Linked DNA regions of Homo sapiens: all the other regions are linked to region 1. The links are contacts of gene promoters, found by promoter capture Hi-C in blood cells and fetal thymus (Javierre and others, 2016). All regions are on one chromosome and are shown on one strand. The core of a region is centred on a gene start or on the middle of the fragment in contact, and the rest is flanking DNA. Distances in the headings are between cores, read along the strand shown.

What was found. Contacts are between HindIII fragments. The CHiCAGO score rates a contact against its expected background, and 5 or more counts as called.
Region 2: a fragment that was not itself captured here is called in contact with the fragment with the promoter of RRS1 in region 1 in 1 of 17 cell types (M0 macrophages); the score reaches 6.1 in M0 macrophages.
Region 3: a contact is called between the fragment with the promoter of DNAJC5B here and the fragment with the promoter of RRS1 in region 1, in 6 of 17 cell types (M0 macrophages, M2 macrophages, monocytes and 3 more). The highest score is 11.0, in M0 macrophages.
Region 4: a contact is called between a fragment that was not itself captured here and the fragment with the promoter of RRS1 in region 1, in 17 of 17 cell types (M2 macrophages, M1 macrophages, M0 macrophages and 14 more). The highest score is 34.5, in M2 macrophages.
Region 5: a fragment that was not itself captured here is called in contact with the fragment with the promoter of RRS1 in region 1 in 16 of 17 cell types (M0 macrophages, M2 macrophages, M1 macrophages and 13 more); the score reaches 24.0 in M0 macrophages.
Region 6: a contact is called between a fragment that was not itself captured here and the fragment with the promoter of RRS1 in region 1, in 3 of 17 cell types (M2 macrophages, M0 macrophages and M1 macrophages). The highest score is 8.9, in M2 macrophages.
Region 7: a contact is called between a fragment that was not itself captured here and the fragment with the promoter of RRS1 in region 1, in 4 of 17 cell types (M2 macrophages, M1 macrophages, M0 macrophages and 1 more). The highest score is 9.1, in M2 macrophages.

The regions. Positions count from the first base shown.
Region 1 is chr8:66,427,281-66,430,706 of GRCh38, reverse strand. It overlaps RRS1 (regulator of ribosome synthesis 1), which reads right to left and starts at 1,693. Exons shown (of 1, transcript NM_015169.4): 1 at 1-1,693. The coding sequence starts at 1,575. The coding sequence ends at 478. RRS1-DT (RRS1 divergent transcript) reads left to right here and starts at 1,730. Exons shown (of 3, transcript NR_040434.1): 1 at 1,730-1,765. All of the region lies in intron 1 of LOC102724687 (a long non-coding RNA gene), which reads left to right. RefSeq lists enhancers at 126-175, 1,445-1,814, 2,235-2,304 and a silencer at 1,955-2,044. The HindIII fragment of the contact is 6,678 bases long and covers 1-3,426 here.
Region 2 is chr8:66,003,578-66,007,003 of GRCh38, reverse strand. All of the region lies in intron 4 of LOC105375883 (a long non-coding RNA gene), which reads left to right. Among named protein-coding and RNA genes, the nearest start is that of DNAJC5B, 16 kb to the left of the region's middle. The HindIII fragment of the contact is 1,825 bases long and covers 942-2,766 here.
Region 3 is chr8:66,019,854-66,023,279 of GRCh38, reverse strand. DNAJC5B (DnaJ heat shock protein family (Hsp40) member C5 beta) reads right to left here and starts at 1,727. Exons shown (of 6, transcript NM_033105.6): 1 at 1,575-1,727. LOC105375883 (a long non-coding RNA gene) reads left to right here and starts at 1,799. Exons shown (of 7, transcript XR_929008.3): 1 at 1,799-1,856; 2 at 2,047-2,257. The HindIII fragment of the contact is 2,733 bases long and covers 1,560-3,426 here.
Region 4 is chr8:66,040,885-66,044,310 of GRCh38, reverse strand. It overlaps DNAJC5B (DnaJ heat shock protein family (Hsp40) member C5 beta), which reads right to left. Exons shown (of 6, transcript NM_033105.6): 2 at 700-823. Among named protein-coding and RNA genes, the nearest start is that of DNAJC5B, 21 kb to the right of the region's middle. The HindIII fragment of the contact is 1,413 bases long and covers 872-2,284 here.
Region 5 is chr8:66,059,659-66,063,084 of GRCh38, reverse strand. The region is part of intron 3 of DNAJC5B (DnaJ heat shock protein family (Hsp40) member C5 beta); the gene reads right to left. Among named protein-coding and RNA genes, the nearest start is that of DNAJC5B, 40 kb to the right of the region's middle. The HindIII fragment of the contact is 3,519 bases long and covers 1-3,426 here.
Region 6 is chr8:66,085,625-66,089,050 of GRCh38, reverse strand. All of the region lies in intron 5 of DNAJC5B (DnaJ heat shock protein family (Hsp40) member C5 beta), which reads right to left. Among named protein-coding and RNA genes, the nearest start is that of TRY-GTA5-1, 26 kb to the left of the region's middle. The HindIII fragment of the contact is 6,637 bases long and covers 1-3,426 here.
Region 7 is chr8:66,141,052-66,144,477 of GRCh38, reverse strand. All of the region lies in intron 4 of TRIM55 (tripartite motif containing 55), which reads right to left. Among named protein-coding and RNA genes, the nearest start is that of TRIM55, 16 kb to the right of the region's middle. The HindIII fragment of the contact is 1,571 bases long and covers 865-2,435 here.

The DNA.
Region 1 (3,426 bases), core at 444-2,943:
TTATTACTTAATCTTTAAAACAGTCACTTGCCTATTCAATTCTGAAACTGTTTGTTTTCTTTCCCTCCCCCGCACTCCCGCTCTGATACACAAACTTGTTGTAAAAATAATGCAGAAACATATACGTCAATCTAAGTCTCTGAAATATGGCCAACTCTACCTCGCCGTATATCCAACATTAAAAAGAAAAAAAAAGGCTGTTTAAGAATAGAACTCATTCCCGGTTTCCACCAAATTATTTCCCTAATTCTTAAATCCTCAAATAAGTTCTTAATCTCCAAAGTCTCGGTTGTGGGAAAAACATTAATTTGTGCAGTCCAACACTTACATACTTTCTTGACGGAAGGGCAATCCTGTCCCTTTAAACTCAATGAAGGCAGCGGCCAGGTCCTTCTGAGTCCCCGTATAATTGCCTAGAACTTAACATTTAGTATTCATAGTCCTTGGTTTACAGACGGGTCCGACAGTTAGAAACTATTACTTCCTCCTCTTTCCTCCTGGGCGCTGTCCTCCTTTTCTCTTGCCACCCAAGCCAGGCGGCCCAGAATTCATCTTGCCTCCCAAGCCCCCTTTCCTCTTCCCTCCCTGGCTGGGCGGGCCCCCTTTCCTCTTGCCCCCAGGCCCCTGCCGGCCTCCCTTTCTCTTGCCCTTCTGGCTCATTTTCCTCCTCTTGGCGGCCTCCTCCTGGTCCTCCTCCCTCATCTGCTTATTGGTGGCCCTAGTCACATCCAGCTGAGGCTTCTTGCTGTTCATGACACGAAGCAGCTCCAACTGGTTCTTTTTCTCGGCTGCAAAGTCCCCGAAAAGGGGTTGAAACTTCCTTTTCTTGCCGGAGCCCCGGGGCACCTTCTCCTTGGGGAGGCGCTCCTGAAAGCGCCCCACAGAGGCGGTGGAGACCTTGGCCACTTGCATGGCGCGGCCCAGCTCCTCCTTACTCTGGTGTCCGGTAGGGTGCAAGCCGGCCGCGCTGGGCAGCTGCATCTTGTGCGCGCGGGCCAGGTTACGCAGCCGGTTCAGCTCGTTCTTGGCCACCCTTTCCTTCTTGGCCTGAATCCGCTTGGCGAACTGGTCCTCCAAGGGGTCGGCATTGCCGGGCACCTCAATCAGCCATTCTTTGGTGTCGTCCCGGGCGCGCTGGTAGCCCCAGCGCCGCCGCCACTGGCCACTCACCTCGTCCCACACCAGGTTGGTCTTCTTCTTGGGACGGATGCCCTTGAGGCGCGCGAACTGCTGCCAGCGTGTAAGTGGCCGCGGTCGGGGCAGAGGCTTCTCTCGCGGCAGGCGTGTGGTGGGCTCCGGCAGCCGCGCCACTATCGCCTCTTCCACGCGCTCCGTGGGCAGCTGCCACAGCTGGTTGATGAGCAGTTGCGTGTTGTCCCGCGCCAGGGCCTGTAGCTCGGCCTCCGGCGTGGGTCCGGCGCACCGCAGCCCGGTCGGGGGGTTCCGGTCCGACGCCAGCAGGTTGCCCAGGTCAAACTGCAGCTCCAGCTCCTTGTGCACCGTGATGCGTTGCAACTTCTCTGCCTCGTCCTGCTCTGCCTTTGCGAGCAGCTCCTCCACGCTCTGGCCCTCCATGGCTCCGGCTCGGCTCACTCGCTTTGGGGCTGCAGCTGAAGTTACTTTTCCTACAGTGGCGGCCCAAACTCCGGCAGCATAACCACGTGCAGATGCCGGGATGCCCAATCCGGAAAAGAAAGGTTCGCTTCCGGAGCGTCCGGAAGCGGCTCGCAATCCGGGCGACCAGAGGAAAGGCCGGCAGAGGGCGGTATGGAGAGATGATGGGATTAGAAGCGGGACCTTTAGGCTGGCGCCAGATAGAGGCGGAGCTGGCCCGAGCAGGCCGCACTGCTAGTTCCAGAGCAGGATTGGGACTACGATTCCCAGGATGCAGGGGGCGGGAGGCGGTCTAGAGGGCGGTCCAGGGACAGCTCGGGGGGCCGCCTAGGGGGTGGTCCAGGGGGCGGTCCGGGGACAGTCTCGCAGGCGGTCTAGAGAGGGCGGTCCCGGGGGGCGATCTAGGGGGCGGTCTTGGGGGGGGCAGTTCAGGGAGTGGTCTTAGGATGGTGGTCCGGGGACAGTCTTGGGGCTCAATCCGGAGGGGCGGGCCGGAGGGTTTGTCCAGGGGCGCGGTCCGGGACCGGGGCGGGTACAAATTCCTGGGACTGCCTGTGGTGTGGGGTTCCAATCAAGTGCGTGTTACAATTTCAGTGTAAATCCGTTGTGAAGATGTTTAGACAATCACCCTTCTTAGGGCCAAATAGTTTCACTGGAGTCATAGTCGGCTTTCAGGGTTCCTAGTTGTGGCCCGAGAAAGATAACATCCCAAAGATACACATAGAGCTAATTGTAGAAGATTCGTTTTGTTTTGGGAGTCAGTGGCTCTGGCAATGAAGCCACCCCGAGTGGGCGCGGGTGTGCACCGACCCTAGTGAGCTAGCTGACTCGGAGATCCGGGATTCTGCAGTTACAGAACCTAGTCTAGTTCAATTAATCTAGTACAGTGCTGAAACTAAGCCACGCTCTGCAGTTACACTGCCTGGGTTCCAATCCTGACTGTGCCACTGTTGGTCCTTCAGCAATTTTACTTGTTGAGGCCGTTTTAAGGCCTGCGAGATAATGATAATAATACTTCCTAGGGTGGTTATAAGATAAATGAGTTAATATCGTCCAAGGGAGGGTTAGACGAGGGCCTGGAGCGTATGAGTACTCAGTACAAATTAGCCAAATACCGATTATTATTTCATTTTCATAGGCTCTGGGAGGTAAGTGCTACATGGTGTTAAGTATGAGTCAAACGGCCTACAATCAGGTATCAGGTCACCATTACTTGGAGAGGATGTTTGATCTAAGCCTTATTTATAAATTGACAAACATAAAACATTAGTTACTGCTACATGGTAAGAACTCAGTATGTGTTAGCTATTAGTATTAACTATGTTATTAATTATTGTATTAACTATATTATTTTCACAGATGAAACAAGGAGGGCTCAGAGAGGTGAAATGACTTATCTAAAGTTATGCAGTTAGGGAATATAAGAACAAGAGATATCTTAACTCTGGTTTTAAGTCTGTAGATCTATTCTCTGCAATGTCGTCCAAGCTCTTGATACTCATTAAAGTGTGGTCTGCATACCAGCAGCATAATATCCCCTGGGAGCTTGTTGGAAATGCAGAACGTCAGGCCTCACTCTAGATGTAATTTATCAGAACCTTTATTTTAATAAGATCTGTAGGTGACTAGGATGTACATTTGAGTATCAGAGGCACTGTTGATTGCGTGGTTTACAGGGTTTATCTTCCTTTCACTGGGGGCCAGGTTTATCCTAGAGGGGGTTATGCTGGAGAATTAACCAATGAAATTAACTTAATAGCAATTAGCAAATAGACTCAGTTTAGTTTCAGCATTGTGCTAGCCTTTCTCATC
Region 2 (3,426 bases), core at 605-3,104, 420 kb after region 1:
AATTTAAGTTAATAAGCCTTCTTTGTTTTTGTCCATGAAGGATGACTATCAATGTTGCTAAGAGCTGTTTATTAAACTGATAAAAATAAATATTGTCTTTAAAAAGTCAGGCTGCCTTTATCTGATCGCAAAGGTGAGCTTGTAAAATTAATCCTTCTGGTGTTTGCTTGTCATTCAAGCATAACTTTTCTTCTACCTACACCCACTGTTTTTTTTTTTGTTGTTGTTGTTGTTCAGCTCCAGCAAGTTTTTGGCTGTGGTTCTATCAATGGCTCTTTGAATAAGAAGCCCTGATGGTAGGATGTAAGCAATATTTTTTTAAAAGTGGGAGCAGGGAGTTAGATTGGGCTGACATTAAAAATCAAAGAATCTTCAAAGTGTAAGACTCACCGTTATTAGGGTTTTAATGCCATTGAAAGTTTCAGATAGGGAAACTTTCCCTTTGTGTCTCCCATAGTCTGGAGAGTGATTATACTTTCATTTATTTATTCCATAAATATTTATTGAAGGCCTGCTTTGTGGAAGGTAAGATATACGCAGTAGACAAGAGAAACATTAATTAGGACCCACCCACCTTAATGAAACTTATTCTACTATGGGAGTCCCCAGATGCACAAATGATGGGACTGTCAGGGCATCTGCAGATACGTGTGTATAAATGTGTGTGATGTAGTGAACTTACTGTGCATGCTCATCTTTGTGCAGAACAATGGTGGTTAATGAGGATGTCAGGGAGAATAGGAGAGAAAGCCTGAAATCTCATGGCATTTGCTTCTTGATTCTCTGCCAGCAAAGACAAACAGTAATGTAAAGAGCTCCCAAAATCATACCCATTGGATTTTGAGATGCATGATGCACTGGAAAAGTGGAAGATTTAACTTCCTTCTTACCTCTTACATACACATGTCACCTATCTAAATTCCTATCTCTTCTGCTAAGCTTTTCTGATCATTCCAGCCCAGAATGATCTCACTGCCTCCTTACTATCAACTCTTATAGTGCTTAGTCTTAATTACCTACTCCCTCACAGTAGGACCTGATTTTTGGAGGTCTCCCTGTGCTCCTTAAGGGCAGGGACCAGATTTAATGCTTTTTTAATATATTGTATGGCCCATCGTCTGGGGCAGAGTGGGAGCTCTAGAACTAAATTGACATGAATGCTCTGCTCAAGTTAATATTAAACTCAGTTTGCATTTTCTTGGGCCATAAACCACCCAGTAATTAGAAGGCCATTTGTGAAGGAAGAGCTCTGAATGTACCAGTAATGGAACAAATCTTGTCTGGTGGCTGGAGGAAGTAGACATGGCCTAATAACAATCTGATCAATTAGGTCAAAACTGACCCAGACAACATCAGAGCTGGAAGTTTATACAAAAATCATTTGGTACACAATCCCCTCACTTTACAGGAAGGAAGCCAGGGCCCATCGAGTTTGCAGCCAGCTCAAGGTCACATTGAGTTTGTGGTAGGTCCCACTGAATTTGTGATAGAACTGGTGACTATAGCTATTGACCAAGTCTGTGCTGGGTAGAGTGTCAGGCTTGAGAGCCAATTAGATGTAGGCTTAACCTGGTGTTTGCCAAGTCCTCACAGTAATAATGACCATGTTTCAAACCTGTTTGAATGTTCCTAGCACCATGTCAAATGCTTCCCATCTGGTAATACCATGACTTCAGTTAATCTTCACCACACATGAGGGAGGCACTGTATCAGAGTTCCACCTGAGAAACCAAACCAGCAAGAGATATTCAGAATTTTTATGTGTAGGTTTATTTGATTGTGGGGTTGGTTAAGGAAGTCCAAAATCCATAGGGCAGGCCATTAAGAAAGGCAGGCTGGAATTTGAGGCACTCAGGGAAGCTGGTCCACAGATGGACTTTCTTCTTCAGGGAAGCCTTAGCCCTGCTTTCAAGTCCTTTTAACTGATTGAATCAGGCCTACCCAGATTATCCAGAATAACCTTCCTTACTTAAAGGCAATTGATTATGGACTTTAACAACATCTACAAAACACGTTCTCTGATTGAGGACAGCGATGCCTGGAATAGCATCTGTGATTGAGTAATTGGAGACAGTAGCTTAGCCAAGCTGACGTATAAAACTGACCATCCTGGATACTACTTTTCACTGGTTTCCCAAGTCACAGGGCTGGTTAGTGGCAGAGCCAGATCCCAGGCCTGCTCTGCCTGTCTCCATGGTCCATACCTGAGATGCACAGGACGGTCTGTGCATGTAAAGTTGGGCAAGTTCTTACACTACTCTGAGCCCCAGATTCTTTCCCCTATAAAATGTAGGAAGTCATATTTATGGCACAGTGTTATGTTAATCAAATGGGGAAAAGTGAGTTGTTAGCACTTAGTAGGGGCTCAACAAATGTTAGCTATTTCTTTCCCCTTTGTACTACATCAGTTGTCCCCAACTTTTTGGTACAAGCGGCCAGTTTCGTGGAAGACAATTTTTCCATGGACCAGGAGTAGGGGATGGTTTCGAGATGATTCAAGCACATTACATTTTTGTGCACTTTATGTCTATTATTATTACATTGTAATATATGATTAGGTAATTATACAACTCCCAATAATGTAGAATCAGTGGGAGCCCTGACTTGTTTTCCTCCAACTAGACGGTCCTATCTGGGGGTGATGGGAGACAGTGACACCTGAAGTGTGTTGCTTATGTCCAATCTACTTCATAATCTCATTTTGGTTGCTGTCACTGCAGAAAGCCCTGCTTCACAAAGACAGGATGTTGGAAATGGCAGCAAGCTTTTCGATGCGCTTGTATCAATCTTAGGATATTCTGCCTTGACTTTAATATAGAAGGTATCGTGATTTGAAGTTGTCTCAAACATACTTTTAAGGTCACTGTCATTTGTGATCTCAACCAGTTGACCCATCTGGCTTATTTGGAAATGGTTCACAGACCCATTCCTTCCCAGTTTGGGGGTCTTTTGTGGTTGGAAGTAATGCTTAAACTCTTTTGAAAGCTAAGATAAGTGATCATGCACCAGGCCCTCGCTTAGTCTCTTTCAAAATCTCTGCTAATGTTTGAAACATGTCAGAAATTCCAATGTTCACTCGTCACTCACATAATTCCATTTTGGCTTTGAAGGCAGCCACTTTATTTGCCTACTTGAACACAGTTGTCATTCTCCCCTAAAGTGACAGATTGAGTCTGTTGAGCAGGTTGAATATGTTGCACAAGTAAGCAAATTTTGTGACCCATTCTGTGTCACTGAAATGTGCAGCCAGTGGTGACTGTTTTTCTAAAAGAAATCTCTGGTGCCGCTCTAGTAACTCAAAAACTCTGGCCAGTGATCTACCTTTAGAAAGCTATCTCACTTCTGTGTATAAGAGAAGACATGTGTGTTCTGTGTCCATCTCCTCATGCAGCTGAGCAAACAGATGTGAGTTAAGGGCATATACTT
Region 3 (3,426 bases), core at 478-2,977, 410 kb after region 1:
ATCAAAGAGTTAGTTCAAATATGAACCAATACATTCATTCATTGTGGGGCAGAGTGTATTGGAGAGGCCACCAGGCTAAGAGTGAGGGGGCTTAAACTTTAGTCCCCAGCACTAACTAGCTTGATACCCTTAGCTGAGACACTTCTCTGTGTGGTTTCTCCTGGAAACGAAGCTGTGGAATGGATGATCTTCTAGTTCCCCTCCGACTCTAAAATTCTGCAGTATGCGACAGGCTGCAGCAGCATGTGACTAACACAAGGATCAGGGAACGTTACAGTCAACAAATGCAAATGGAGATGAGTTAGGACATTCTGTGTTTTGTGGGTATTATCTGAGGTTCAGCTTAAACTTAGTTTTCAATGGCTATCAATGAAGGAAGCCTAAAAACTGGGCCAATGAGATTTTAATGTTCAAGTCTTAAGTGGTTATGATTAGATCATAACCTAATTGTGAAAATCACAGTGACTTCTGTACAGAAGTTGAATGTGTGCTATGAAGTTTATGTGCAAGTATATTTTGCTTTTATCTGGATCTCTCAGTTTTACATGCTTTGGGGACTATTACTACTTTCATAGAGTGTGAGAGTATTGACCTTACTGCTGTGATATATTTATTCGTGATGTGTTGGAGGCCAAGGAGAGTTAGAGTTGTGTCCTGTGGATAGAGAATCCATCTCCTCCTCTTCTTGTCGATGGCTGTTGGGGTCCCCTGTGGGTAACTGACCTACCTGTCAGAACATGGACTCTTACTCCCACTGAGGGAGCATCGCCATCAACTCTGACCTTGCAGGCAGAGCTCAGCGTGCCTGCCTGAGCTGTCCTGTGCTCCAACTCCGGGGTCGCAGTGTGCTAAGACCCAAGGGAGTCCACATGGGGATGAGTCAGGGCCTGGCGCTGGCCCCATGCTCCGCCCCACTGGTAAACAGAACAGTTCTTTGCCGTCACTCAGAGCCTCTCAGGGCCCCAAGACTCCAGGAAGAAACAAGTATTGTAGAAGCCAAAACCCCAAGGCAAGGTAAAGAAAACAGAACTGTCCGCATCCCCAGCAATGATTTCACTGGCAGGAGTTGCTGGGGGCGGGGTGGGGGGTCCGGTATATGTTCCAGCAGAGCTGTTTTACTTACTTCTCAACCAAAAGGCCCTTCTCTTTTACTCTTTATAGGGGTATCCTTTTGCCTTTCAAGATTTGAACTTTCAAAACTTGACCTTAGAGTCAGTCTTGCTTGCTAACCCATAATACAACTTTGCACCTTTTATTACTTTTGTTTGTTTTTGTACTGGCTTCTATTAAAATACTTCCTTAGTTAACTTATTTTTGTTTACTCTACCCTGTCATCCGGGGAGGAGCTATTGAAAGAAAAAAACCTCTAAATAGAAATATATCACCAGCAGCACAAGTGGACTACAGCCTCGGAAATGTCCTCACCGTCCGGCTTCATGGCAAGCAGCCTGGCTGTTGGCAAGATGCGCCCAGCTCTGCTTCTGCTCGTGTGGAACCTTACATTACCCTAACGCAGCTGGGGCACAAGCCGTCTGTGCTTATACTATTCTTCTTAAGCTTGGAGACACACTCACCTTGAGATCTCTCCTCTTTTTCATCTAGACACTGGCAAGTCCTGTTCTGAGCTTAGCAATGCCAAGTACCTGAACTGGAGGCATGGCTGGCTGATCCCTTCTAGCTCCCTCCAGTAGTGTCCCACCTTGGCTATATCAGTAACTGCGCCTCCTGTTATTTCTCCTTCCCAGTTGTCAAGGTCAAACCTGGGCTGGATATTGTGATGTCACAGAGTGGAATCCTCACTCCTCCAGATGGTCCAGCTGAGGCCCTCTTGGACAACACTTCCTCTCCTGCCCATGGTGGGAGGTTGGGAAGGACATTCCCCCATTTCCATTTGCTCTGCCATTCAAAACCTTGTGAGGGCCCTCAGGGAAGAATCCCTTTGCAGGTCATAAACTGACCTGCAGAATTATGGGATCTTAACTGTGGGGAGAGACCTAGAAGACCGGCTAGTGACCAGATTCTCATCTAACTCCTTTTTTTTTGCAGATGAGGAAACTGAGGCCCCACGTGGTGAAGACAATTTTTACCCGAATCCACCCACAACAAGAGACCATTTGGATAATGTACATTATGGGAAGAGAACAGAGTCTCAGTGAAGATCATGTTTCCCCAGCAACACAGGTGCCAGGAGTAGCTGGCTCTGGTCCCAGCCCAGACTCAGAAATCCTGAGCCACCAGACCATTTCTAGATTAACAAGTAAGGTGACTTCTGAGCAACTAATGTTTTCATTGAGATTTGATGATAAGCAGCAAAGCTCAAATGAAAGTCCAGAGTTAGTGTTGGCAGGGCGAGATGGCTCATGCCTGTAATCCCAGCACTTTGGGAGGCTGAGGTGGGAGGATCACTTGAGCCCAGGAGTTTGAGACCAGCCCGAGCTATATAGTGAGACCCTATCTCTACAAAAAATACAAAAATTAGCTGGGCGTAGTTGTGCGTGCCTGTAGTTCTAACTACTCAGGAGGCTGACAGGGGATGATCGCTTAAACCCAAGATATCGAAGCTGCAATGAGTTGAGATTGCACCACTGCACTCCAGCCTGGACGGCAGAATGAAACCTTGTCTAAAACACACACACACACACACACACACACACACACACACACACACACACACACACACACACAGAGTATTGATTACAGCGCTATACCAGGTTCTAGTGTTGAGTAAGGGACAGGGAGGAGCAATCTGTAAAGAAATAGAGTCTCACTGGAATTTCATTCTTCATTATTTCATACCCTTCACTTTTTCTAGACGCTAACCCCATATGATACTAAAAAGTATCTGTATTGCATCAGACGACGTATCTGTGAAGTCAGAGAATTGTGCTTTAAGAATCTCTCAAGAGGAGAACATATATTGGGCTTTCATAATACCAATAACATTTTACATCATGCTTCATTTACAAGCTATTTTCACACATATCACTCTATTTAATCTTCACAACTTGGTGAGATAAACAAAGTATTATTTTCAGTATAATTTTCTGGATGAGAAAATTATAGCTTAGAGAAGTTGTGTCTTGCACGAGATCACAAAGCTAATTAAGTGGAAAGGTTACTTAACATTAACTACAAACCAGATCTTCCACCAAGCCTTTTCCCCACCACAGGGCTTTGCTGGTTGGGGAGAAATTGTCATTTGGTCCCAGAACACACTTGAAGGCCACTGCCTTAAGCAACCCTTTGAGTAACAAGGAAGAAAGTATTCCCGTAGGTCATAAATACTGCTTTACTAACTTCCTAAATGTCTTCATAAAATCTTAGGGAAATGGTTAATGGACACTAATTTTAAACTTTAAAATAATATAATTATTGCCCTTTCTTCCAACAATTCCACATCTGTGAATTCTCCTAAGAGAACCATTA
Region 4 (3,426 bases), core at 329-2,828, 390 kb after region 1:
GAAATCAACAAGTTTTGCTGCTTTGTCATTACTTCTATGATTCCTTCATAGAAATTTGTTTAGTGGAGCAAAATTCCCATAAGCCCAAATAATGTATCTTAAAGCTAAATGAACTTCCAAAATGCAAATCCTATGTTTAAAAGTAATAATTCTCCCTAGCAGGATTACTTATTTGCTATTTGAAAACAATGCTCTTGGCCGGGCTCGCACCTGTAATCCTAGCTCTTTGGGAGGCCAATGCGGGTAGATCACCTGAGGTCAGGAGTTCCAGACCAGCCTGGCCAACATGGTGAAACCCTGTCTCTACTAAAAGTACAAAAATTAGCTGTGGTAGCGGGTGCCTGTAATCCCAGCAACTCAGGAGGCTGAGGCAGGAGAATCACTTGAACCTGGGAGGCAGAGGTTGCAGTGATCCGAGATGGCGCCACTGTACTCCAGCCTGGGTGACAGAGTGAGACCCCATCTCAAAGGAAAAAAAAAAAAAAAAAAGGTTCTTTTCATTGCACTAATCCTTATATAAATGGCAACCTGAAGATGGGGCAAGTCAGAATGTTACTAGTAAACCACAGTACCTGTTCCTGGAACCCGGAACCCCGATTCTGTGTCCGCAAACAGGAACAACTTGCTGTTTTCAACTGGTCTGGAAATAGATGTGCAAAGAAATAAAAGAAGGCAACAGCAAAAGCTGCTGTTCCATACCTGTTCCACCGTTTCAAAGCAAACAGCTGCTCCTTTCCATCCTTCCCCCCCATGCAGGGTTAAGCAGGTCAATAGAGTCAGGTTACTTTTCATTTGTTACTTTGCCAGCCAATTGGTTATCCCTCTGGAAAACACAACAAAGAGAGAATGAAACATGCATGACCGTAAAGCTTGCAATTACAAGGCATCCACTGATACCAAAATATATGCTGCAGCCCACTTTTGATCCTTTGTTGACTGGTGCTTGGTTCAACCAAACACCACTGAGGAACTGCCTCCAGCGTCTCCACCGGGACTCTCCATTAAGGAAATAAGCTCATCTCCTTACATGTGAAGTGGGTTCCTTCAAACTTCATTTCCTTTTTGATCTAAGGCTACTACTGATCAGTTGATTTAAAATTACTGGAAAGAACATGCAACACTAATAAGGGGGAAACTTTAACTGCTCACTATTTATTAACCCAATATTTTCAAATCTGCATATTTAACCCTCGCCTAGTTAAGAGGCATTGAGTCACAGTACTGACTGAGGTGGTTTTAAGAGTTAAGGCATCTCTTGCTAATGTCCATACTCTCACAGACATTAAAAAGTCTCGTGAGACAACAATTCCTATGATTTAGAGTAAGATCCTACAGACTAAAAAAGTTTTACATGAGACAGGTGTTATTCCTGAATTTGGCACAGTGGGGTCCTGGAGGCTGAAGGAGTAGTTTAAGTGTGCTGTTTACCAAGACAGGTAGCCCAGCTTCAGGCAATTTTGTGTGAATGATTCAGAGCACTCTCACCTCTAGTTGAGAGTTTTTTAGATACCTTCGGATTTCCAGCCAGAGTTTATGAAGCTGCCCATCATCACAGAAGAGGAAGAAGAAGACGAAGAAGAGGGGTGCGAGGAGGGGGAGGGGGGAGGGGGAGGGGGAGAGAGGAGGGAAGAGGGAGAAGGAGGAGTAGGAGGAAGAAGAAGAAGGAGGAGAAGGAGAAGGAGAAGGAGAAGAAGAAGAAGAAGAAGAAGAAGAGGAAGAAGAAGAAGAAACACAAACAAATTTAGAATGAAATACCCAAGTTCCAGCATGACTTCAGCTTAAGGACAGTGTCCTTTGATGAAATAAAAATAGTTGCTATGTAAATATGGTGAGCTTATGGGTAGCTTTTTAAAAATGTATGTTTTAGTTTATGTTTCAAATTTAGTCTAATAAGAAATACTTTTAGTAAAAGTCATTCTTTTTGCACAATGAATCACTCTCCTTAACCATTAATCTTTAAAGTATTACATAGAACATTAGTTTCAAAAAGTTAAGTAGTGCAGAACTCTTCAGCAAAGTGAAACTGTAGCTGAGTTTCAAAGAGAAAGTGCAGTATTCATTCAACAATTAGTCACCTATTGAATTCAAACACTGGACTAACTTCTAGAAATATACTGATAAACAAAAGTCAACACAGACCCTGGGTGTGTGAGTCAAAGAGTTACAGCCTTCCAAGACAGGCAGTGAGCAATCAAATGGTCACTCAAAAAAGTGGAAAAGTGAGACTTTGGAGAGATGCTGCAAGAACGTAAAATCAGTGAACAGAGGAAGATTAGAGAAAGCTTCCCTGAACAAAAACAACTGGGCAGAGATCTGAAAAGAACTAGATAAAGGAGTTGCTGGTAGTAGCAGATATATTCCAAGCAGGTGGAAGAGCATGTTCAAAGGTCCTACGTGCTTAAGTCGGAGAAATTAAAGGGACATTCTGATGTGTGCTGTCATACATAGGACGTCATTACATGCCTATAAGCATATGGCTTCTGATATCAAAAGATACAGCCAGAGATCAATGGGATCATATTCCACGTAACCAGGTGAGGCTTTCTAGAAATGGTGAGTTTCAAATGATATTTGTAAAAGGAAATAACTCATGGTAAGCACATTAAACAATTCCTTGATTCAAAATGCACTAAATGTATTGTAAAAGCATTGCCAAGTGGATCATTTATGTTTTGAAAAAAAGAACTTAGTATATCTTCCAAGATTGAACCAAAAAGTCCTGTCTCTGAGGCAGGAAACTTAAGATAGAACCATGATTGGGAGGAGGGTTTTACTTGCTAATTTCCCTTGTTTTCTCTATTTGTGAGGTCTTCACCATTCCCTTAGGGGCTCCTAGGGACCCCTTATACACCTCTTTCAATTGCCACATATGGTTAGGGCTATTTTAAGAAATGACTGGTGCACTACCACAGAATCTGCAGCAGGTACCAGATCAATTATTTGAATATTCAACCCAAGCTATCTAACACATAAGCATTAGGGTTACATAGTCTTTCTTTTAAATTTCATATCTCAGCAGGCTCAAACACCACTTGTTTCGAACATGTGATGTGCAAGGACATGATGAACAAAGGCATTATTGTTACTAATATTATTATTTTTAGTACCTCTCTACATCATTTATGTTATTAGTATGCAATATATGAAACTCAAGCCATCACTTGTAAATTTCAAAGAGATAAATCATCTGATCAAGATTCATTGTGTTAACTTACTTGGGAAAGGGAAAAAACAGGTGGTTGCTTTGATTGTATAAAATGAAAAAGCCGTCACTACCACTCTATCTAAGATGTAGCTACTGAACAATTCTGGCAATTCTTCTGTAAAATCAAGTGCTTATATGTTTCTTCAGAAGAACAAACTGGTTAATTCCTATTATGTTTTATCATTTTACAAAGTTAAAAAAAAAGTCCCTTTTAAAGAGAA
Region 5 (3,426 bases), core at 510-3,009, 370 kb after region 1:
ATTCATGAGACACAGAGACCCAAGTGCTAATGTGCAAAACTAGTTCACTTTGATTTTTTGTTTGTTTGTTTTTTAGAGTCAGGGTCTCACTCTGCCACGTAGGCTGGAGTGCAGTGGTGCAATCATGGCCTACTGCAGCCTCAAACTCCTGGGCTCAAGAGATCCTCCCACCTCAGCCTCCCAAATAGCCAGGACCACAGGCACATGCCACCAAGCCTGTCTATACGTTAATATCTATTTAGGGTTTTGTTTTGTTTAGAGACAGGATCTCGCTCTGTCACCCAGGCTGGTGTGCAGTGGCATGATTATAGCTCACTGCAGCCTCAAACTCCTGGGCTCAATTGATCCTCCCACTTCAGCCTCCTAAATTACTGGGATTACAGGCAACAGCCACCACAGCCAGCCTCACTCCAATTTTGTGGCTCTCTAAAAAGCCAAGGAAGAGCTAGATCTTTGCATGATTTCTTACCCAGCATTTTGTTAGGCTCTTGCACCCAACATGCTAGAGAAACCAGTCAGCCTCACTTTGGGGCATCTTAATCTTGTTTCCAGCTCACTTCAAAAATGTATGTATTGGTGTAAATAAAAACCAATGTTTATGTTACAAATGAGATTTTAAACTCTGAAGACACATTCTCTAAATTGCATATCTGGCTGTTTTTTTAGTTTTCCTTTTCTTATCCCCTAACTACTTTTCACTTGAAGGTCCCAGAATCATACAAAATGCTCTGGATCCCAGATGGAAGCTAGTATCTTTCCTTTCTGATCTGCCCCTCCTCTGTTTATTGGGTCAGTGAATAACTCCCTGTTCAGCAAAGTGACCAAACTAATTATTTGAGAAATGGTCCTGAAGAAGCTGAGACTATAATCGAGGAGAAAACAGACATTTTCCAGACATTTTCTATTTTCTAATTCTTTTTTGCATTCAGCAAATACTAGCATGGTGCTAGGGCTGAAAGTACAGTGAGAGACCAGGCACAGTGTCTGCCCTCAAGGAACTGATGGAATGGGAGAGGCAGAAAAGCAGCAAGGGAACTACTGTCTGTGAGGCTGCAGTGCTCTGCTGGAACAGCGCAGTGGGCCAGGAAGCAAAGGAAAGCCCTCAGGAAGGGGCTCGGCTGCGCCCCCACAGGCTGCCACTCCCCGAAGCCACCTGAATGCCTCCTTGTCATCACTCTCGGTGGGATGTTTGGGTTTCTTCTGTCCTCCCCACCCCCAGTTCAATTCTTTTTGCTTAGACACCTCTTAAAATAATATTGAGAAACTGTGTCCCTTCAACATTTTTAACTTGGCATCTAAAAATTTTTATAAGATTAAACAGATGCAAAGAATGTAATTTTCAGCATATTATAAACATCAGCATGTTAAAATAAAACAGTTGTAACATTCTTTTAAATGTATTCAATGGAATCTAAATGTCACATAATCTAAGTACCCCTTATACACGCGCACACACACACACACACACACACACTCTCTCTCTCTCTCTCTCTCTATCCATTCTTTCTCATTCACATACTCAACACTTCTTGGCACGTCACCCTGCACCCGTGCCCTAGCTGAGTTTGGAAACTGCCATTATGTATGGTTGGTTCTCAGGCCCTTGTATATCCTTTGTAGCACCCAGTACCCATGTGCCAAACCCTGGCTAAGCATTTTGCATGCATCATCTCATGTAATCCTCCACAACCCTCTGAGATTGGATCATTATCTGCACTTTACTTATGAAGAGAATGAGGCTGAGAAAAGTGAGTTGAATTCAGGTCTTTCCGAATACCTTGCACTCATTTTTAGATATGGGATCTTTCTGTGTTGCCCAGGCTGGAGTGCGGTGGCTATTCACAGGCTCAGTCATAGCATACTACAGCCTCAAACTCCTGGGCTCAAGAGACCCTCCCACCTTAGCCTCCTGAGTAGCTAGGACTATAGGCAAGCACCACCACACTCAGAAATACCCTGTGCTCTTAACTGCTACATTATATTTAGAATACACTTCAATGGAGTGATTTTAGTGTTTATGTGAACATCTCAAAGAGAATGTAAAACTTCCAGCATACTCCTACCTAACACTCCCTACCCTCTTCTGCTTTTCTTCCTAGCATTTAGCAACATCTGATATGTTGTGTGTCTTACTTATGTGTTCATTATTAAGCCTCCCCCTTCCCCTGGCCCTATTTAAAACAGGTTTAAGGAAGCAGGTCTGTTTTGTTCACTGCTATTTTACCTAGGACAGTGGCCAACACAGAGGCGGTGCTCAATACATATTCGTTGAATAATGAACCAGACTTGCTGGTATAAAGCCATTGATAGTGTCAGAGACTCTAGACATACTGGTGGTTGCTACGTGCTCTGATCAGCCTTCTTGGCTTCTGCTATCATTAGGTAGCAGTATGGATCAACAATCTAATGACTTTGGAGTGAAGGTCCTTTATGTGCCAACAAGAAAAGAGGAAACCTAATCACACACCCACAGTTCTTGCTGAGCAACAAACAGTAAAATAATACACTTTATTTACCCAGTTCAACACAGAATCAGGTGGACTTGCTGCAGGAATACGGTAGGGCTGCTCTTTGAGTCATTGTCGCCCATTGTTCACTGCACGGGGTTAGGGCACATCAGGATGTGTTTGGAAAGCTGGTAGCAGTGGCCTCCCAGAAGTCCCAGAGAGCTGAAGAGGCTTCCAGAAAGGAATACAAGCCACGGCTGTGACAGCCCCAGCTGGGTACGTCTAAAGAACCAGTGGTACAGCCTGACACAAACCTCTCTTAGTCTGGGGAGGGAACTGTAGAATCTTCTGGAAAAGAATGCATCTTAGGAAAGAGCCAGGTGTGATGACCTTGACACAAGAGGAGGGGGGTCTGTTGGATGAGATCTAGAGTCTAAGCAGAGCGACATTACTGCTAGTGTCTGGCTCACCCCCTGAGCATGTGTCTGGGTCCTAGAGAAAAACAGAGCTACAAGGAAAACTGGAAGGAGCTTTTCTACCATGCTTTGAACTCATAGGGGGCTCTAACAGAGCATATCACAAAGAGGAGGAAAGGAGCCATCCACTATGCCCAGCCTCAATCCTGCCAGAGGTACAGCCCAGCAGGCTTTGGTGTTCCCTCGGCTCTCAAGGTAAACAGCAGAAGAGGCTTCTGGGCCTGAAGGAGCGGTCGGGACTTGGGGACTGAGAGGTTGGCAAGGAGCACCTTCTGTGCCTACCGTGCCTGGCAGGGTGATGCAGCTGAGTGGCAGGGGAGCTGCAGCAGCAGAGTCTAGCACCCAAGGTTATGTCTAGCAGTGACTGTGGACATGCCCACACAGCAAATGGCAAAGCAGCATCAGCTACAGGGTGGCAACATGGCTTGGTGGACAATGCCACTACATGGAGATGAACTGCCTCCCACGCCCTGGGAGACTTCCGCAGAGGAGACCCCTAGAAG
Region 6 (3,426 bases), core at 296-2,795, 340 kb after region 1:
TATCTTTATAGCAGAGTGATAACAGACTAATACAGAAAATTGGTACAGGCAGAGTGGGGTACTGCTATAAAGATAACCTGAAAATATGGAAGTGACTTTGGAACTGGGTAACAGTCAGAGGTTGGAACAGTTTGGAGGGCTCTGAAGAAGACAGGAAGATGTGGGAAAGTTTGGAACTGTCTAGAGACTTGTTGAATGGCTTTGACCAAAATGCTGATAGTGATATGAACAATGAAGTCCAGGCTGAGGTGGTCTCAGACGGAGATGAGGAACTTGTTGGGAACTGAAGCAAAGGTCACTCATGCAGAGACTGACAGCATTTTGCCCCTGCCCTAGAGATCTATGGAACCTTGAACTCGAAAGAGATGATTTAGGGTATCTGGTGGAAGAAATTTCTAAGCAGCAAAGCATTCAAGAGGTGATCTGGCTGATTCTGAAAGCCTTCAGTTATATGTGTTCACAAAGAGATGGTTTGAAATTGGAATTTATGTTTAAAAGGCAAGCAGAGCATAAGGTTTGGATTTGCAACCTGACTATATGGTAGAAAAGAAAAATCCATTTTCTGGGGAGGAATTCAAGCCTGCTGCAGAAATTTGCATAAGTAACGAGAAGCTGAATGTTAATAGCCAAGATGATGGGGAAACTGTCTCCAGGGCATGTACAGACCTTCACAGAAGGACCTCCCATCACAAGCCTGGAGGCCTAGGAGAAAAAAAAATGGTTTCTTGGGCCAGGGCCAGGGCCCCACTGCTCTGTGCAGCTTCAAGACTTGGTGCCCTGCATCCCAGCCACTCCAGCTCCAGATGAGGCTGGAAGGGGCCAAGGTACAGCTAAGGCTATTGCTTCAGAGGGTGCCTCAAATCTTGGTGGCTTCCACGTGGTATTGGGCCTCCTGGTGTGCAGAAGACCAGAGCTCAACTTTGGGATCCTCCACCTAGATTTCAGAGGATGTATGGAAATGCCTGGATGTCCAGGCAGAAGTCTACTGCAGGGGTAAAGCCCTCATGGAGAGCCTCTGCTGGGGCAATGCAGAAGGGAAATATGGGTTTGGAGCCCCCACACACAGTCCCTACTGGGGCACTGCCTAGTGGAGCTGTGAGAAGAAGGCTACCATCCTCCAGATCCTAGAAAGGTAGATCCATCAATAGCTTGCACCAAGAACCTGGAAAAGCCACAGGCACTCAATGCCAGCTGGGAAAGGCAGCTGCAGGGGCTGTACCCTGCAGAGCCACAGGGCCAGAGCTGCCCAAGGCTGTGAGGGCCCACCTCTTGCATCAACATGCCCTAGATATGAGACATAAAATCAAAGGAGATTTTGGAGCTTCAAGATTTAATGACTGCCCAGCCAGGTTTCAGACTTGTCTGGGGCCTGTGGTCCCTTTGTTTTGACCAGTTTCTCCCATTTGGAATGGGAACATTTACCCAACGCCTGTACCTCCATTGTATCTTGGAAGTAACTAACTTGCTTTTGATTTTACAGGCTCATAGGTAGAAGGGATGTGCCTTGTCTCAGATGAGACTTTGGACTTGGACTTTTGAGTTGATGCTGGAATGAGTTAAGACTTTTGGGGACTATTGGGAAGGCATGATTGGTTTCGAAATGTGAAAAGGACATGAGGTTTGGGATGGGCCAGGGGCAGAATGATATGGTTTGGCTCTGCGTCCCTATCAAATTTTATCTCAAATTGTAATCTCCATGAGTTGAGGGACGGACCTGGTGGAAGGTGACTGGATTATGGGGCTGGTTTCCCTCATCCCATTCTCACAATAGTGAGTGAATTCTCATGAGATCTGAAAGTTTAAAAGTGTGGAACTTCCCCTTTGCTCACTCTCTCTCACCTGTCACCTTATGAAGAAGGTGCTTGCTTCTTTTTCACCTTCTGCCATGATTGTAAGTTTCCTGAGGCCTCCTCAGCCATGAGGAACTGTGAGTCAATTAAACCTCTTTTGCTTATAAATTACCCATACTCTGGTTGTATCTTTATAACAGTGTGAAAACAGACTAATACAGTAACTGAATTCAAATCATAAATGTATTTCCCTAGTTAATCCCTGTTCCTTTCTCTTATTTTTTAGTATAGTAAGGTATAAGAAGACAAAGTGTTAAGTAGCTATTACTTTTATTCTGGAGTAAAGATTGCCCCATATCAGTTTTACTATACTTTGCATCTTGACATTTCTGGATAAAAGATGGGGAGAATAATAGAAGAAAGAACTGCTAACCATATTTCCTTAAAATTAGTGCTCATGTATGAAAAATTAATTTCCTGTGGTAATCTTCATATGCTGGTCAAATCTCCAAGTACAATATAATAATCTGTAACATAGAATTTAGATGGGTAATTAATATAAAGCCCTGGCTCCACTTAGTCTTCCCCATCCCACCTTGTCTCATCTTAATTAGTTTTCCCCTTCCCTAAAACCAGAGTATTATGCTCTGGAGGCATTTTGTCTTCTTCCTTGCCAGTGAGGGTTGGCTCCTCTGTTCTTTTAAACATCTTTATATAATGTAGATTTTTTAATGTAAATGTAAAGGTAGCTAATAGTTCCTTCAAAGAAAAATTTCTGTTGGCAAAAGTCATCAAACTTGAAATCCTGATTTATAGTACACACAAGGAAATATCCTCAGTAGTGGCTATATAACTTGCCAAACCCAGTTCAAAATGAAAATGTGAGGTACCTTATTCAAAAATTAAGAATTTTAAGACAGTGACAGCACAGCAGCAAACCAAGTGCTAGAAATCTTAGACAGTGCAACAAGGCAAGAAAAAGAAACAAAAGGAATACAGATTGGAATGGAAGAAATAAAACTGTTTCTATTTGTAGATGATATAATTGTCTGCATAGAAAATCCCAAGGAATTTACACACACACAAAAATCCAAACTGTTAAATGAGTTTAGCAAAGACATGGGATACAAAGGCAATATAAAAAGAAATTGTAAATACTTGCAATGAACAACTGCAAGCAAAATTAAAACCAATGCCACTTACAATAGCTCTCTCCAAAATGAAATACTTAGGTACCCATTTAACAAGACATTACCAGCTTTGTATGCCAAAAACTACAAAATGTTCATGAAAGAAATCAAATGAGACGTGGATAAGTAGAGATACATATTGTTGATGGATTGGAATATTCAACATAGTAAAGATGTCAATTCTTTCCAAGCTGATCTACAAATTTAATGCAATTCCAATAAAAATCCCAGCAGGATTTTTCTGTAGATATAGACAACTTGATTCTAAAATTTATATGGAAAAGCAAAGATACTAGAAGAGCCAAAACAATTTTGTAAAAAAAAATAAAGTTGGAAGAATCACACTACCTGATTTTAAGGCTTACTTTAAAGCTACAAGAGAGCAAGACAGTGTGGAATTGATGAAGAGATAGACACATAGATCAATGGGACAGACTAGAGAGTAT
Region 7 (3,426 bases), core at 401-2,900, 290 kb after region 1:
TGGCTGCTGCACAGCCTTCCTCCTGGGTCTGCTAGGACAGTTATATTTCTTGGCTTCTTGGGAGAACCAAATTAAAGTTGTCTATAATATTTTAATGAAAATAAAATTCATCCCATTTCTAGGGAGAATGCAGTGTGGATGCAATATACCAAAAAGGGATGATTTTATAAAGTGAAGATCATCCCTCCCATATTGAAATGGTAAGATGATGATGGGTGGGATATTTGTTTCTAACCAATGCCAACATTTCTGGATGTAAAGAAAAAAAATCAAATGGTCATTTGGTTGTTTCCTTAGAAGTGAGTAGGTAACATTTAACATTGACCTAAAGCCATTGTTGAACTGTTGCCATCATGGAAATGTTAAAATTGGCAGACTCCAATTTCTAGCCACCTTTATATTTTAGTAGTAATAAGAAAAACAAAATATGCAACTGTAAAGAGAACATTTCATGGAAAGAAAAATCAACAATAGATGACCTTACATTAAAAGAGAAGACAGCCTTCCAAGCAAAGCACCATCATACCACTGTTTTAAATGGCTAGATTTTTATTGGTTCACTTTTCTCTCAGGTAATTATCACTCTCTAAAATGATCTTGTTGTTCATTTGATTACTGCCTAACTCCTCTATTAGAATAAAAAATGCCTGTGAACAGAACCTTTTATGTTTAGCTCATCACTAGTTCCCAGCATTATGTGTACAGAACATGGCACACAATGCACCCTCGAGAAATATAGATTGAAATAATGAATGAATGAATGAATAAAATGTGACTTGCATCTAGAAATATTCAGCCTTCATGCAAAAGCTTCAGTTTTGTTCTGTTCCAAAGAAATAGGTATTTAAGTGGATATTCCAAGCTTCTGCTTCATTCAGTGTTAAAAAAAAAAAAACCCAAAAACCAAGAAACCAGTAAAATATAGCTATGCAACCTTTGGGAAACCATTGAACCTCAGGACAGTTGTTAGTATGTTTGTATTTGTACAGTGAAAGACTGAATTATATAATTGCTAAAGTCCCTTCTGACTCTACAGTGCCAAGACTCTCTAATTTCAGGTAAATGTGAAGAAGTTTCAGAGAGTCATTAGGCTATGATGTGCTTCCCTCTGTTCCTGGCAAGTCTTGTGTCATCGACAGCATTAAGATATACATTACATGTCCTAGCCCTGAAAGCTCAGCACTAGCTTGCACACGTGCCATGGCCACAATAGGAAAAAAACCTAAAGCAACAATGACCACTGCTCTTACCATGTAAGGAACACAGCTCTGTGACCAAAATAGAGCTGAAGATAAGCTCTTAGACCCACCACTTGTCACTGAGCAACTGTGGCTTGATTAGGCCCATTCATATCTCCACCACATTCCTCCAACATTCATCGAGACATACTTGTTAGAGCTATACCTTCATTTGAAATAAGGAACTTCAAAATTCCCTTCAATAAGCAAACAGGATTTCCTGCCACCAACCCTCCAAAAAAGAAAAGAAAAGCAGCCTGTAGATTAACAATACTGAAAAAAGAACTACATTAAAGTAAGAAGTTCCTTCCAAGAAAATCAAATCCAGCCTTTCATTCATAAAGCTCCAGTTACAAGCACTTGGAGAAGTCCCATGAGTACAGACTAGGGTGTCCCTAGAAAGGGGACAGATAAACTACAGAGACACCAACTTCTGGGCACCCAGGCTGGGATTCAGCCCTCCACCAGCTGGCCCCTTTGTGTAGTGCTCAGCAAACAACTCCATTCAGTGGCTGTGGATCTCGGGTCTTCCAAACTCAGGCTCTTTTCTACTACTTCATGTTGCCGCTCCATGTTCGAAGGATAATTATACGGTAATTTGAGGGATTTCTAACACTTACTCTTGGGGTTCTTGGCATTTTGGTTTTTCTGGGCTAAGCCAGATCATTTAGAATCTTCTTGAGTAGACGCTATAAGGGCTGAGGGCCAGGTGGGCCTGTTCTGACAGGAACCCCATGGTTCAGTGAAAGCCACTTGTCAGACTGAGCAGATGTTTATCTCACTCTGGTCTGCTGTGGGTAGTCACCATGTTTCCCAGAAGAGGCTCAGTCTCCCTTGGTTGCCTATATTTCCAGTTGCCACAAAGCCTCTTAGATAAATAACGGAAGTCATTTGTAGCTCCATTCATTCTCAACGTGTCCCTCTAGAGGGAGATGCTCAGTCCTGCCATCACAATTAACTAGGACCTGATAGTCTTCTGACATCATTTAAAAGATGCTCCAGAATCTCTAGAGGTTCCTATTGGATCACATCATCAGAATAAGTGTGTGCTTTCCAAGATGACTCTGAGGCTGTAAGGTGACATTTACCAAGCCCCTGGAATGTACCTCTTATTTCAACTTCGTCATCATGACAATGCTGTGAAGAAGGTATTATCATCCCCACTGTAACGCTGAGGAAGCCGAGAGACAGGAAGCTTAAGTAACATGCCCAGTGTCGTGTAATTAAGCAACAGAACTAAAACTCAAACTCTGAAATCTGTTCTTTTAAACATATGTTATATTGCCTTTAAAATTCTGGCATGGTATTTAAACAACTCTAATTATATTCATACTTCATATTTGTAATGGCATGGACAATGTCTCAGAGACTAGAAATGGTCATTTTGGGTAAAATCACTGTTTTGGAAATACAATGAATTTGTTATCACTGCAAAATCATTGGAGGGTTTTATTCAAGTTGTCCTTTTTCAGAGATTGGAAATGCTCAATATCAAATATTTATTATTTACTTGGAACAGTTTCCACTAGACAGGCCATACAAAACAGGGATGTTTCTAGGCCTGCCAGCCTGCCTTTGGGATGGCCAGTATTAACAGCCTGTGCCCTTAAGTATCCAGTGACATAGGATAAGTTCCACTGGTAAAGTTCACAAGAGGTAGATTATGTTCTCTAGGGATGAGAAGTGAAAGTCAAGCATGTTTCCCTGGAAGCAGAGAGCTCCCCAGTGGACATTTCCATTCCTACAGGCAGCCCCCCATCCAGTTCCATTCTGTTCCAGAACAGCTCCAGGCCTAGAAAGGCAAGTGAACCTTCAGATCATGCTGGGCTCATGGAACAGCCCAGAAGCCCTCCATCAGCCTGCAGTCCGGAGTTCAGGGAACGTCTTAGGCCAAGCCACTCTCAAGAAGCGGAGGTAAAAAGACTCACGGCTCAGTTCATTCACCATCAGCCCACAGCATGGAAGGAAAATGCCACTCCCCCTTTCAAACCACCCTTTTGCAACTATAGGCATTCTCAAATCCTTCTTCATTATCACAGTAAATTCATGTTAATGCAGACATTATTCTTAAAGGATAACAAGGAGTCCACAGTGTAATTTACCCTAAGCTCAGCATTGCTTCAGGGCTGGTCTTGGGACAGGTGCCTCCCCAGGCCAGTCCTGTGTGACATTACATGATTAGGACAAA